Linked DNA regions of Homo sapiens: all the other regions are linked to region 1. Evidence: promoter capture Hi-C in human tissues and cell types (Jung and others, 2019). All regions are on one chromosome and are shown on one strand. The core of a region is centred on a gene start or on the middle of the fragment in contact, and the rest is flanking DNA. Distances in the headings are between cores, read along the strand shown.

Region 1 (3,691 bases), core at 626-3,125:
GAACCCGGGAGGCAGAGGTTGCAGTGAGCCGAGATCGCGCCATTACACTCCAGCCTGGGCAACAGAGCGAGACTCTGTCTCAAAAAAAAAAAAAAAAAAAACAAGGGACAAATTGTGGAATCAATGCCTTTACCGCCACTGAGGCCAGCCTAGCACAGCCTCCATCCCAGGCCTCCTAGGGCACCTGGATGGAAGCTCTTAGGTTTGCCAAAATCCCTACAGAACAGCAGCAATTGGTTTCTTAGTCAACTACAGCAGGCATTTATTGTACACCTACTGTATGCAGCAGCCTCTGGAGGAGAAAGTTCAAGCTTTACAACAAGGGAGGTGATATGTGTAAAGCTGTATGTAAACCATGAATCACAGGGAATGTGCAGGATGACAGAGACGGAGGAGAAAGGATAAGCATTTATTGAGCACCTACCGTATGCCAGGCCCTGGGCTAGGGACTTGAGGTACATTAAAGCATTTAATCCTCATTAACCCAATTTTACAAATGAGGAAACTGCCACAGAGAGGTGAGGGGACTTGTTCAAGGTTTGACAACCAAGTAAGGGAGCTGGGATTTGAACCCAGGTCTCTCTGGTTTCAAGACCAATACTCATAACCCCCACATGGACCAGGCACCATCACACCTGAGCACTGCACTTAGGGTCAAAGACCTGGCCCCACATCTCAGCAGCTATGTAGACTAGCTCCAGTCCCTTAATCTCTCTCAGCCTCAGTTTCTTCATCTGCAAAACAGGTCTCAGTTTCGTTGCAAAGTATGAAGTGCTGGGCTGTTACTGGTCAAAGGGAAGAGCTGGGAAGAGGGTGCAAGGTGGGGTTGGGCTGGAGATGGGCTGGAGCAGATAGATGGAGGGACCTGAATGGAGGAAGTAAACCAAGGCCCGGTAACATTGGGACTGGACAGAGAACACGCAGATCCTCTAGGCACCGGAAGCTAAGTAACATTGCCCTTTCTCCTCCTGTTTGGGACTAGGCTGATGTTGCTGCCTGGAAGGGAGCCAGCAGAAGGGCCCCAGCCTGAAGCTGTTAGGTAGAAGCCAAATCCAGGGCCAGATTTCCAGGAGGCAGCCTCGGGAAGTTGAAACACCCGGATTCAGGGGTCAGGAGGCCTGGGCTTCTGGCACCAAACGGCCAGGGACCTACTTTCCACCTGGAGTCTTGTAAGAGCCACTTTCAGCTTGAGCTGCACTTTCGTCCTCCATGAAATGGGGGAGGGGATGCTCCTCACCCACCTTGCAAGGTTATTTTGAGGCAAATGTCATGGCGGGACTGAGAATTCTTCTGCCCTGCGAGGAAATCCAGACATCTCTCCCTTACAGACAGGGAGACTGAGGTGAGGCCCTTCCAGGCAGAGAAGGTCACTGTTGCAGCCATGGGCAGTGCCCCACAGGACCTCGGGTGGTGCCTCTGGAGTCTGGAGAAGTTCCTAGGGGACCTCCGAGGCAAAGCAGCCCAAAAGCCGCCTGTGAGGGTGGCTGGTGTCTGTCCTTCCTCCTAAGGCTGGAGTGTGCCTGTGGAGGGGTCTCCTGAACTCCCGCAAAGGCAGAAAGGAGGGAAGTAGGGGCTGGGACAGTTCATGCCTCCTCCCTGAGGGGGTCTCCCGGGCTCGGCTCTTGGGGCCAGAGTTCAGGGTGTCTGGGCCTCTCTATGACTTTGTTCTAAGTCTTTAGGGTGGGGCTGGGGTCTGGCCCAGCTGCAAGGGCCCCCTCACCCCTGCCCCAGAGAGGAACAGCCCCGCACGGGCCCTTTAAGAAGGTTGAGGGTGGGGGCAGGTGGGGGAGTCCAAGCCTGAAACCCGAGCGGGCGCGCGGGTCTGCGCCTGCCCCGCCCCCGGAGTTAAGTGCGCGGACACCCGGAGCCGGCCCGCGCCCAGGAGCAGAGCCGCGCTCGCTCCACTCAGCTCCCAGCTCCCAGGACTCCGCTGGCTCCTCGCAAGTCCTGCCGCCCAGCCCGCCGGGATGCAGTCCGGGCCGCGGCCCCCACTTCCAGCCCCCGGCCTGGCCTTGGCTTTGACCCTGACTATGTTGGCCAGACTTGCATCCGCGGGTGAGTGAGGGGCCTGAGACCCCGACCCAGCCTGGCGGAACTAGAGGGGTTCCTCCGGGAGGGAAAAGGGACAGGAGGAGCCAGAAGTGGCCCCCAGATCGGGAGTCAAGCAGGCTGCGCTTCTCCCACCACTAGCTGGGGTCGCCAGGGGTTCAATCCTGGGGCGGACACGGGACCCCGCTATCTCAGGTTATGGGGTTTCTAGCTAGCCAAGGCTGTCCAGTTAGGGGCGGGAGCAGGCGCCCCAGGCATGGATTGCCTAGGGCGTGGCTTTGCCCGTTTGGATTGTCTGAGACACCAGTGGGGCCACCCCAATGCTGGCCGAGCTTTGTTTGCCAGGCAAGTTTGGGGTGAGTATGTTGGGGTCCAAAGGGACCCGGCGACAGTGAGAAGTGGGTCCTCCAGCTTCAGATGCCCTGGGCCAGGAATGGGGAGTGCTACAAGGTGGGAAACGAGGAATGAGCCACCCTGCCCTCCCCTGTGAGGAGCACCCCCACACCCCTCCAGCTGCCCCCCAGCTCTGCCCCTTCTTTCCTCCCCTTGCTTCCTTGCAGATCCGTCTATCTGCCACCTCCCCTCTTCATTCTCTCCTCTCCCTCCTCCTGTTGGTGACAGGCAGGACCCCCCACCCACTACCCACTCTCAGCCTCCTAGAGGGAGAGCTGGTGCCCCTCAGCGGGGCTTGTCCTACAGATAGCTCTGGACCACCCCCTGCCACACCTCCTCATCCCAGCACTGATGCCTGACCCAGCAGAGGCTGAATGGAAGTTCGCTTTCCGAGAAGTGCTGGGATATATCCCCTCTCTGTCCCGATGCCAGAAACCCCAACATGACAGCATTCTTCCTTCAGCGAAGGCAGCTCTAGTTATGCCATAAGAACTGTGGCCTTAGGGCCCATCCATCATCACTACCCACGTGTGATTCAGTGCTTCAGCTACACCTTCGAGATCATTCCCAAGAGCAACATGGAGCAAAGGCAGGGCCTGAGCCTCCTTCACAAGGGCCCAGGCCACACCCTTCTCTCCTTCAGATGGAGAAGCCAGCTCTAAAAGAGGGCATCACATGGTTCCCAGAAGGGAAGTGAGTCAAGGGAGGACCCCCGCGGGGTGAATCAGGGCTGGATCTCCAGGCTCCCTGTTCCTGCAGGGACCAGATCCCCTAAGATCTCAGGGCCTGAGGGATGGGCTGGGCCGCCAGGGAGATGGGAAGGGAGCATCCAAGGTGACCAGGGTGGTCAGCTCATTCAGGCCCCAGCCTCCAGCCAAGGAGGGATTCCAGTACCCCCACCTCCTTGGGCTTCAACTGAGAGCCATTCTCAAATACCTTCTTAGCCCTGACAGCATGCAGGCATGGTGCTAGGCTCGCAGGGGCACGGGAAATTGAGAGGCTGAACTGAGACTCATTCAGGAGGCAGAAAGGCAAATTAAATCTCAAACAGCAAAAATCTGGATGAAAAGTACAGAGGGGAGAAAAGCAGGGGCAAGCTGGGGCAGGACACAGGGTGGGCCTCAAACCAAGCCTTGGTGGATGGGAAGGGAGTCAGTCCTCCAGGCAGGGGCGCTGACTCAGAGGCACCAAGGTGGGCGTAAGCAGAGGGGTGTTGAGACAGGAAGGCCAGCAGCCTGGCTGGGAGGCG
Region 2 (3,795 bases), core at 1,165-3,664, 88 kb before region 1:
GCTGGAGACCCAAAAAGAGCACTAGCTTTAGAATCAAAGACCCCTGGGTTCCAGTTTCAGCTGAGAGACTGTGAGCACATCGCTAGCCCACTCTGATCCTGTCTCCTAGTTGTATAATCACCTATTTCCCATCAATTGCGAGGCTGGAGATAAAAGTGCCCACTCTGGCCAGTACACAGTAGGAACTTAGTAAGCTTAAGCTCCCCACTACCCTAAAGTGTTAGCGGAAAGACAGAGATGTGGGGAATGGCACCTGGGAGGCTCCCGCTGTATGCTTCACAATCCTACCAATGAAAAATCTGAATTAGGCTTCAGTTTCCTGTCTACAAAATGAGAAAGACCAGGAGTGGGTAGGAAGTAGAGGAGCTTGGCTTTGTTGGCTTAAGCCGGGACCGTCTGATTCTGTAACGCGGGCTTCACTGCAGGGTCCAGCCCACTCCCCAGCCAGGGCTTCGCGTGCTCTTAATGTCTTTTGGCCAAGTCCAAGGCTGTCCAAGGTGGCGGTGGGGATGTGGGGTGGTGGGTAGTGGGGTGGAGAGAAGCAGTTCCCCCATATAACCTGCAGGTGGCACCAGAGCAGCGCGGGTTCCGCTCCAACCTTCCTGGAGACCCAGGCAGGGCGGGGTAGGGCGACGCAGAGGTGGTGCACGCTGCTCAGCTGGGCAGCGGCAAGAGCGCGACTGCGGATCAGTCCACACCGTTTAAAATCGACACAAAGGTCTTCTGGCTAATTTCCTCTCTTTAATAGGGTGATCATATGCTTTATCATCCAAATCAAGACACTTCGGAGAGTGAAAGGGGGCACTATAATAATTGTACCAGGACAGCAGACATAACATTAGCTGTACCTTGCAAACCAGAACGTATGGTCACCCTACACTCCGGTCACTTTTTCCTCCTTGTTTCCATTCTTTCTTTTAATTTTTTTTCTTTTTAAACACACAGTATTCTTTTTCCCTGAGCACCGCTGTCTTTGAAAATGCCCTTGCACTCGGGATGTTTTCGACCATGCAACATCTGTTTTCGCATCTTGAGTCTGAACAGGCTCTCTGAACCCACCCCAAAGGCTGGTTTTAGCTTCCAGTCGGAAGACTCTGTTCTCTGGTTTACCATCCCCATGACTCAAGAATTAAAGATGTCAGACCTGGAACAGTGGCCCTTATCTCAACTTTGGTTCCTCTTTGCTAAATCTATTCCTGTAATTTTGTGCTGAGTGCTCATGTCCTTTATCTCCTTGAATTTACGTATATTAGTTTATCGAATTGCAAGTAGACAAGCCCCATTAAGCAGGATTCTTATATTTCCAAGGTCATCTCATTACTCCATTCAACCTCAAATTAGTATGCCATTTATCCCCTTATTTCCGAACCCCCTTCACTTAATAGTCTCATAAGCATCCATCCATCGCAAAAAGGACTCGAACTTTTCTCACTTCCATTTTTAGTTGATTCATTGCTATCCAAGTAATGATTTGTCTGGGGGAGTGATTAGTAGAGAATTGTGCCCTTAAATTTAGTTTTATAGTTGGATTCTGCTAGTTACTATCTCTCTGTCATTCTCACATTGCAACAAATGACTGGGTTTCTGTCTCAACCTAAAATGTAGGTTAGAAATTTGATCTTATCTGAATAAGATATTAATAGATAATGTGAGACTTTTTAAAATTTACTGAAATGTTTCTCAGCCAAGAATGACACTCATGGTCACAAATATGTATGTAAGCAAGCAGAAAATTGAGCTTTAAATATATAAACTCTTAAAATATCATATTTAGAGACTATGTTTTTTTCTTTCTTAGTAAAGTATATTTGCTATGGTTGGAATGATTGTGTCTCCTCCAAAATTCATGTTGGAACTTAAACCCCAATGTGATAGTATTAAGAGGTGGAGTCTTTAGGAGATGACTAAGCTGTAAGGAGGAGCCCCCTCGTGAATGGGATTAGTGACCTTATGAAAGGGCTTGAGGGAGCTACCCAGCTCGGTTTTCTTCTTTTGCTTTTCTGTTCTTTCCACCATGCTGGGACACAGCATTCCTCACCTCTGGAGGTCTCAGCATTTAAGGTGCCATCTTGGAAGCAGAGAGCAGCCCTCACTAGACTACAAACCTGCTGGCGCTTTGATCTTGGACTTCCCACCCACCAGAACTGTGAGAAATACATTTTTGTTCTTTACACATTACCCAGTCTCAAATATTTTGTTACAGCAGCACACATGGACTAAGACAGTATCTTACATTCAGCGAGGTGCCTATACCTTAAGCTACAACTCCTTACTATTTACATATGTGCACACTTATGTGACCGCCACTCAGTTCAAGATACAGAATGTTCCCATCAGCACAGAGGGCTCCCTCTTGCCCCTTCTCAGTTGCTGTCCCCTCAAAGTTAACCAGGATCCTGACCTCTGCAACCATGGATTAGTTTCGCCTGTTCTTTAGCTTCATATAAATGGGACCATTCAGTATGTGCACGTTTGTGGCTGGCTTCTTTCATTCAATATAATCCTGTGAGATTTAACCACGTTTTGGGTACTGGTAGCTGTTTATTTTTCTGGTTGTGTAGTTTTCCATATTTCATTTATTACCCTGCTATTTTTGTCTCTAACTCAGTGTCTTGTGGGGTCTATTGTTCCTTTTTAGCTGGATTGATACTAAGTGTCTTCTTATCAATGGAGCTTAGGACATTTTAGAAGATGAAAGCCTAATAACCCCAAGCCCCCCAATCTTAAGCCAAGTTTCCTCCTCACGCCTGCTTCAGTTGCTCTTCTTCATGTGGTATTTTTTCCCTCACAAAACTGATGGAAATTAAGAAACCCAAAAGCTCTTCATCATGTTATCAGCTTAGGGACGCTTGTCATCTGAATAACAGGGTAGATATTTATCATCTGAAATGTTAAAATAACTAGAGCAAACACTTACATAGCACTAACTGCTGTTCACAGTGCTTTACATATATTATTTTCCTCAAAACTGCTCTGTGAAATAGACACTATTATTGTCATCCCCACATTTTAGATGGGGAAATGGAGGCACAGAGAGACCATGTAACTTTCCCAAGGTGGTAAGGCCAGGACTTGAACCTGTGTTTTCTGGTTTTAGAGCCTGCACCCTTCACCACCACACCATATTGTGTAGCATGATACTTCCTCTGGTTAAAGTGTTTTCTTCTATTTACGTGGGAGCATTTTCTGAATAATTTGAATCTTATAAATTAGCTTCAAATAATACAAGTAAATTGAAATGGAAGATCTAATATAGAATGTGTGGCATTCATGAATAAATTATAGGACTCCCTGGTTTTAAGTAATAATTATTTGCTTATCTTGTGACTTTTGTCAGCAGGGCTGTAATGTGCTCACCTCATTTTCCTTCTCTTCAATAGAAGGAGATGGACTCAGAGACAGGCACAATTTATCATAAAATCTCATCACACTTTCCCTCACCATCTGGAAGCTGGAGATAGGTTAGTGAAATCTTGGTTGAGAAAGAGTTGAATGCTGCTTGTAGCATAGTGAGTTTCAGAAAGATGGTTTTATTTGCTAGTTCTATTGCATAGGGTCCTGCAAGTTTTGGCAATTAACATATATGACCAACAGTTTTCTCACAAAGATTATCAGGATTCTAGAAGAAATTATATTCCAGTTTTATCCTGCTGCTAAAGTCCTATATTTCTTTATATAAGAACTAATTAATTCTTTGTCACTTTTCATTAGACATTTCTCTGCCTCTTTATGCTGTGCTTTATGTCTCTTTGTGCTCAGCCCCAGGTTTTTCCTTCTAACTGCAAGATTATTGAA
Region 3 (3,918 bases), core at 1,163-3,662, 120 kb before region 1:
GTGGTGAAGATATAGGTATGTGGGGGCAGCAAGGCTGTTTCTGCCGAGGAGGCATATAACATTTGTGCAAATACTGCAAAGGGAGTTGCTCGAGCTCCTGGAATCGACTGCCACCAACAAAATGAAGCCTCGCTGCTAGGGTGATGCTGACGGGAACAGGGGCAAAAACGGTAAAAGAATAAATCCTTCTCCTTTCTCCAGCCTTTCAGTCTCCTTCAAGCACCCCTTACTTCCCTGTAAGCAAAGAAGAAATGCCAACCCAAGCCAAGAATAGAAGGGTGGGTTAAAAACTGAGAAGCAATAGCATAGTAACCAACACAGATCTGAAAAGTAGAGACGTCATATGCTTTTAGGTGTACATTATTTTGCTCACTGAAATAAATATGCTTATTTTCTTGATTTATCTCTTTTCTTGTGGGCCTAGCCTCTCTCCCTAAATGGATTTCTCCATTCCCATGGCTTTGGTCACCATCTCGGTGACCTGACCCCTAAATTTTTTTTTTGGTTTTTTTTTTGAGATGGAGTTTCACTCTTTCACCCAGGCTGGACTGAAGTGGCACGATCTTGGCTCACTGAAACCTCCACCTCCCCAGTTCAAGCAATTATCCTGCCTCAGCCCCCCGAGTAGCTGGGACTACAGGCACCCACCAACACACCTGGCTAATTTTTATATTTTTAGTAGAGACGGGGTTTTGCCATGTTGGCCAGTCTGGTCTCAAACTCCTGACCTCAGGTGATCCACCCACCTTGGCCTCCCAAAGTGCTGGGATTACAGGTGTGAGCCACCACGCCTGGCCAACCTGACTCCTACATTTCTATTTCTAAAGCAGATCTCTTTTCTGCACTGTAAGTCCTACACATCCAACTGCCTTCTCTGATCTTCTCCTCTTTGTCTCCCAGGTCCCTCAATCTTAACATGTCCAATCTTGGTCTCTTTTTGAGGCTTTGACTCCTGCAGTATTCCCTAGCTCCAGGAATGCACCCCCATTTCCCCCGTCTTATGCCAACACTGATGGTTACTCTTGGTCCCTCCTCTCTTGCTCATTTCTCACATTCACTGAGTACCAAGTTCCTTCTAAATGCTTGTGGATGTCTTCATTTCTCCCCATCTCCACTAGCCCTGCTCTGGTCCAAGCCACCATCCTCTCTTACCTGAGATGTTGGAGGAGCCCCCTAAGTCACTGCCTGCATTCACTTTTGCTCCCACTAGTGAAATCTTCTCAGTGATCTTTTTAAAATCTGGTCAGCCAGGTGCGGTGGCTCATGCCTGTAATCCTAGTGCTTTGGGAGGCCGAGGCAGGTGGATCACCTGAGGTCAGGAGTTCAAGACCAGCCTGGTCAACATGGCGAAATCCCATCCCTATTAAAAATACGAAATTAGCCAGGTGTGATGCCATATAGATGTAATCCCAGCTACTTGGGAGGCTGAGGCAGGAGAATTGCTTGTACCTGGGAGGAGGAGTTTGCAGTAAGCTGAAATCGCGCCATTGCACTGCAGCCTGGGCAACAAGAGCAAAACTCAATCTCAAAAAAAAAAAAGAAAAAGAAAAATCTGGTCATAACACTTCCATATTTAAAAACCCTCCAGTGGTTTCCCTCCACTCTCAGGATAAAGTCCAGAATCCTGACCACAGCTTGCCAGGCTCTGAATGGTCTGACTCTGCTTCCCAACCCATTGTATCCCCCAGACCATTTATACACTAGGCCACAGGTTTATTTTCAGTTATTTGAAAGCTTTATCTCTTTCCTGCCTTTGTATTAGGCTGGTGCAAAAGTAATGACAGTTTTTGCCATAATACATCTCCTTCCCTCTACCTCAATTTCACTTCCCATCTCCCAGACCCTTCACCTCACTATCTTCTACTCATCCTTCAAGTCTCAGCTTAAATGTCATTTCCTCAGAGAAGCCTTCCTGGATCTCACCACCATCATTGCCACTTGGGCTAGGTAAGGCATGTTTTTATAAGCTCTAATAGTGCCGTCTAATTCTTCTTGGCATTCATCATCTTTGTAATTGTTTATTTGCATAATTTGTTTAATGTGTCTTCTCATTACATTTAAGCCCCGTGAGGACAATGTTGGTCTTGTTCACTTCTACTATCTAGCTAGCATACCTCACAGTGCCAGGCACGTAACAGTGCCCAACAAATATTTGGTGAATGAACGAATGAGTGAGAAAAGATAATTACTTTGAGAGGCAGCATAGCATGGTAGAAGTCACATTGGAGTAGCAGCCACAGACCTGGGTTCTAACCCTGGTTTCATTTCCTGGGTAATCTTCAGCCGTAATACATTTCATTACGCTTCAGGGTCCTAGTCTTTAAAACAAAGGAATAATGGTCTCTGAGATTTCTTCAGTTTCCAAAATGCAATGAGTGTTACTTTTAGTGATGACCCAGTGACCGCATGAAAAGGTGTTTGTATGTTGACTCCAGTTCTGGAAGGGAGAGCAATACCTTTCCCCAGGCTCTCTGATTCGCCTTTCCCACATCCTCCCCATCTCACCACTTTTGGTTTGATTACGAAGTAGATATCCCTGTCATTACTATCAAACTTACAGTTGACCGATGTGTTTGGGAGATTAAGAAATGAAAGAAGTTGGCCAGGCGCGGTGGTTCACGCCTATAATCCCAGCACTTTGGGAGGCTGAGGTAGGTGGATCACTTGAGGTCAGGAGTTTAAGACCAGCCTGACCAACATGGTGAAACCCCATCTCTACTAAAAATACAAAATTAGCTGGGCATGGTGGCGTATGCCTGTAATCCCAGTTACCTGGGAGGCTGAAGCAGGGGAATTGCTTGAACCAGGGAGACGGAGGTTGCAGTGAACCAAGATTGCACCATTGCACACCAACCTAGGTGACAAGAGTGAAACTCCGTCTAAAATATAAATAAACAAATAAATAAAAACAAGAAATGAGAGAAGTTAAGGTGTGTCAAGCTTCCAGAAAAGACAGATAGCTTCCCCTCTCAGGCTTGAGAATTATAGGGTCAATTTAATGCAAGTCTCTGGAATGTTTCCCATCCTCATATGCTCTTGTGATGCTTCTATTGGGGAAAAGCCTGTTCAGATAGGAGCAGGGAATGGTGCTGAGGGCAGAAGCTGTCATGAATCCTCAGTTCACTCACTCACCATGGGCCCTGGGATGGGTTGGGGCTCGCTTGCATGTGGGTGTGTCAGGCATTCTGGGAATCCATGTCAAACAAAATCACTTCTCTACAACAGGAAGGTCTGAATCACAAGGCACTGACAAGTCGTTTAGTTTCCTCACCCTGCTCCCTTGAACTCTCCCATCCCCACTCCCCAACTCACCCCAGGGATCAGTGTACCTCCTATGCAAGTGGTGCCAGCTCCAGCCAGAAAGAGCTAGGTCCTAATACCTGCCACCCCCAGCACGCTCCCCTGGGCTACTCTTAGTCACAGACCATGCAGTTCGGGGTCTTAAAGGTCTTCTTCAAGACAGCACAATTATATTTAGAAGAACTGCAAAAAGCATTTGCCCCCAGAAATCCTGTGGCCCCATTGGATAACAATACTACCTATTCGAATGATGCCAGCAAGGACTCTCTTCTCACATTCAGGAAGGTAAGGAGGAAAAGTGTCAAAAAGATCACCCTGCAGACAAAAATATCACATTCCCACAAAATCTGAGCTGTAATGAGCTTCTTCAGAGAATTATACTTAATTGGTCACTTTTCTAAGGTGGAATGACTTGCCAGTTTGCTCAGCCTAGGGCAGACTAGCTGCGTAAGATTGTGTGCATTATTCAAGCAGAGAGTACCTGGTCTGGGGAGCTGAGAGCCAGCCCACACTGTATTTTTTCAAGCCATGTGTTTTGGGGACTGTGTCCTTCCACAGGCCAGGCCTTTTTCTAATTTGCACAAAGGTGTTATGTGAGCTATTGGTTGCTCTGGCCTA

What was found. Contacts are between HindIII fragments. The study calls those that stand out against the background at their distance.
Region 2: a fragment that was not itself captured here is called in contact with the fragment with the promoter of CSPG4 in region 1 in 5 of the 25 tissues and cell types used here (aorta, psoas muscle, small bowel and 2 more).
Region 3: a contact is called between a fragment that was not itself captured here and the fragment with the promoter of CSPG4 in region 1, in 4 of the 25 tissues and cell types used here (IMR-90 fibroblasts, lymphoblastoid cells, mesenchymal stem cells and 1 more).

What each region holds. Positions count from the first base shown.
Region 1 is chr15:75,711,032-75,714,722 of GRCh38, reverse strand. CSPG4 (chondroitin sulfate proteoglycan 4) reads left to right here and starts at 1,875. Exons shown (of 10, transcript NM_001897.5): 1 at 1,875-2,055. The coding sequence starts at 1,968. The HindIII fragment of the contact is 20,321 bases long and covers 1-3,691 here.
Region 2 is chr15:75,799,039-75,802,833 of GRCh38, reverse strand. No RefSeq gene overlaps it. Among named protein-coding and RNA genes, the nearest start is that of MIR4313, 39 kb to the right of the region's middle. The HindIII fragment of the contact is 8,210 bases long and covers 1-3,795 here.
Region 3 is chr15:75,827,179-75,831,096 of GRCh38, reverse strand. No RefSeq gene overlaps it. Among named protein-coding and RNA genes, the nearest start is that of UBE2Q2, 14 kb to the left of the region's middle. The HindIII fragment of the contact is 5,487 bases long and covers 1-3,918 here.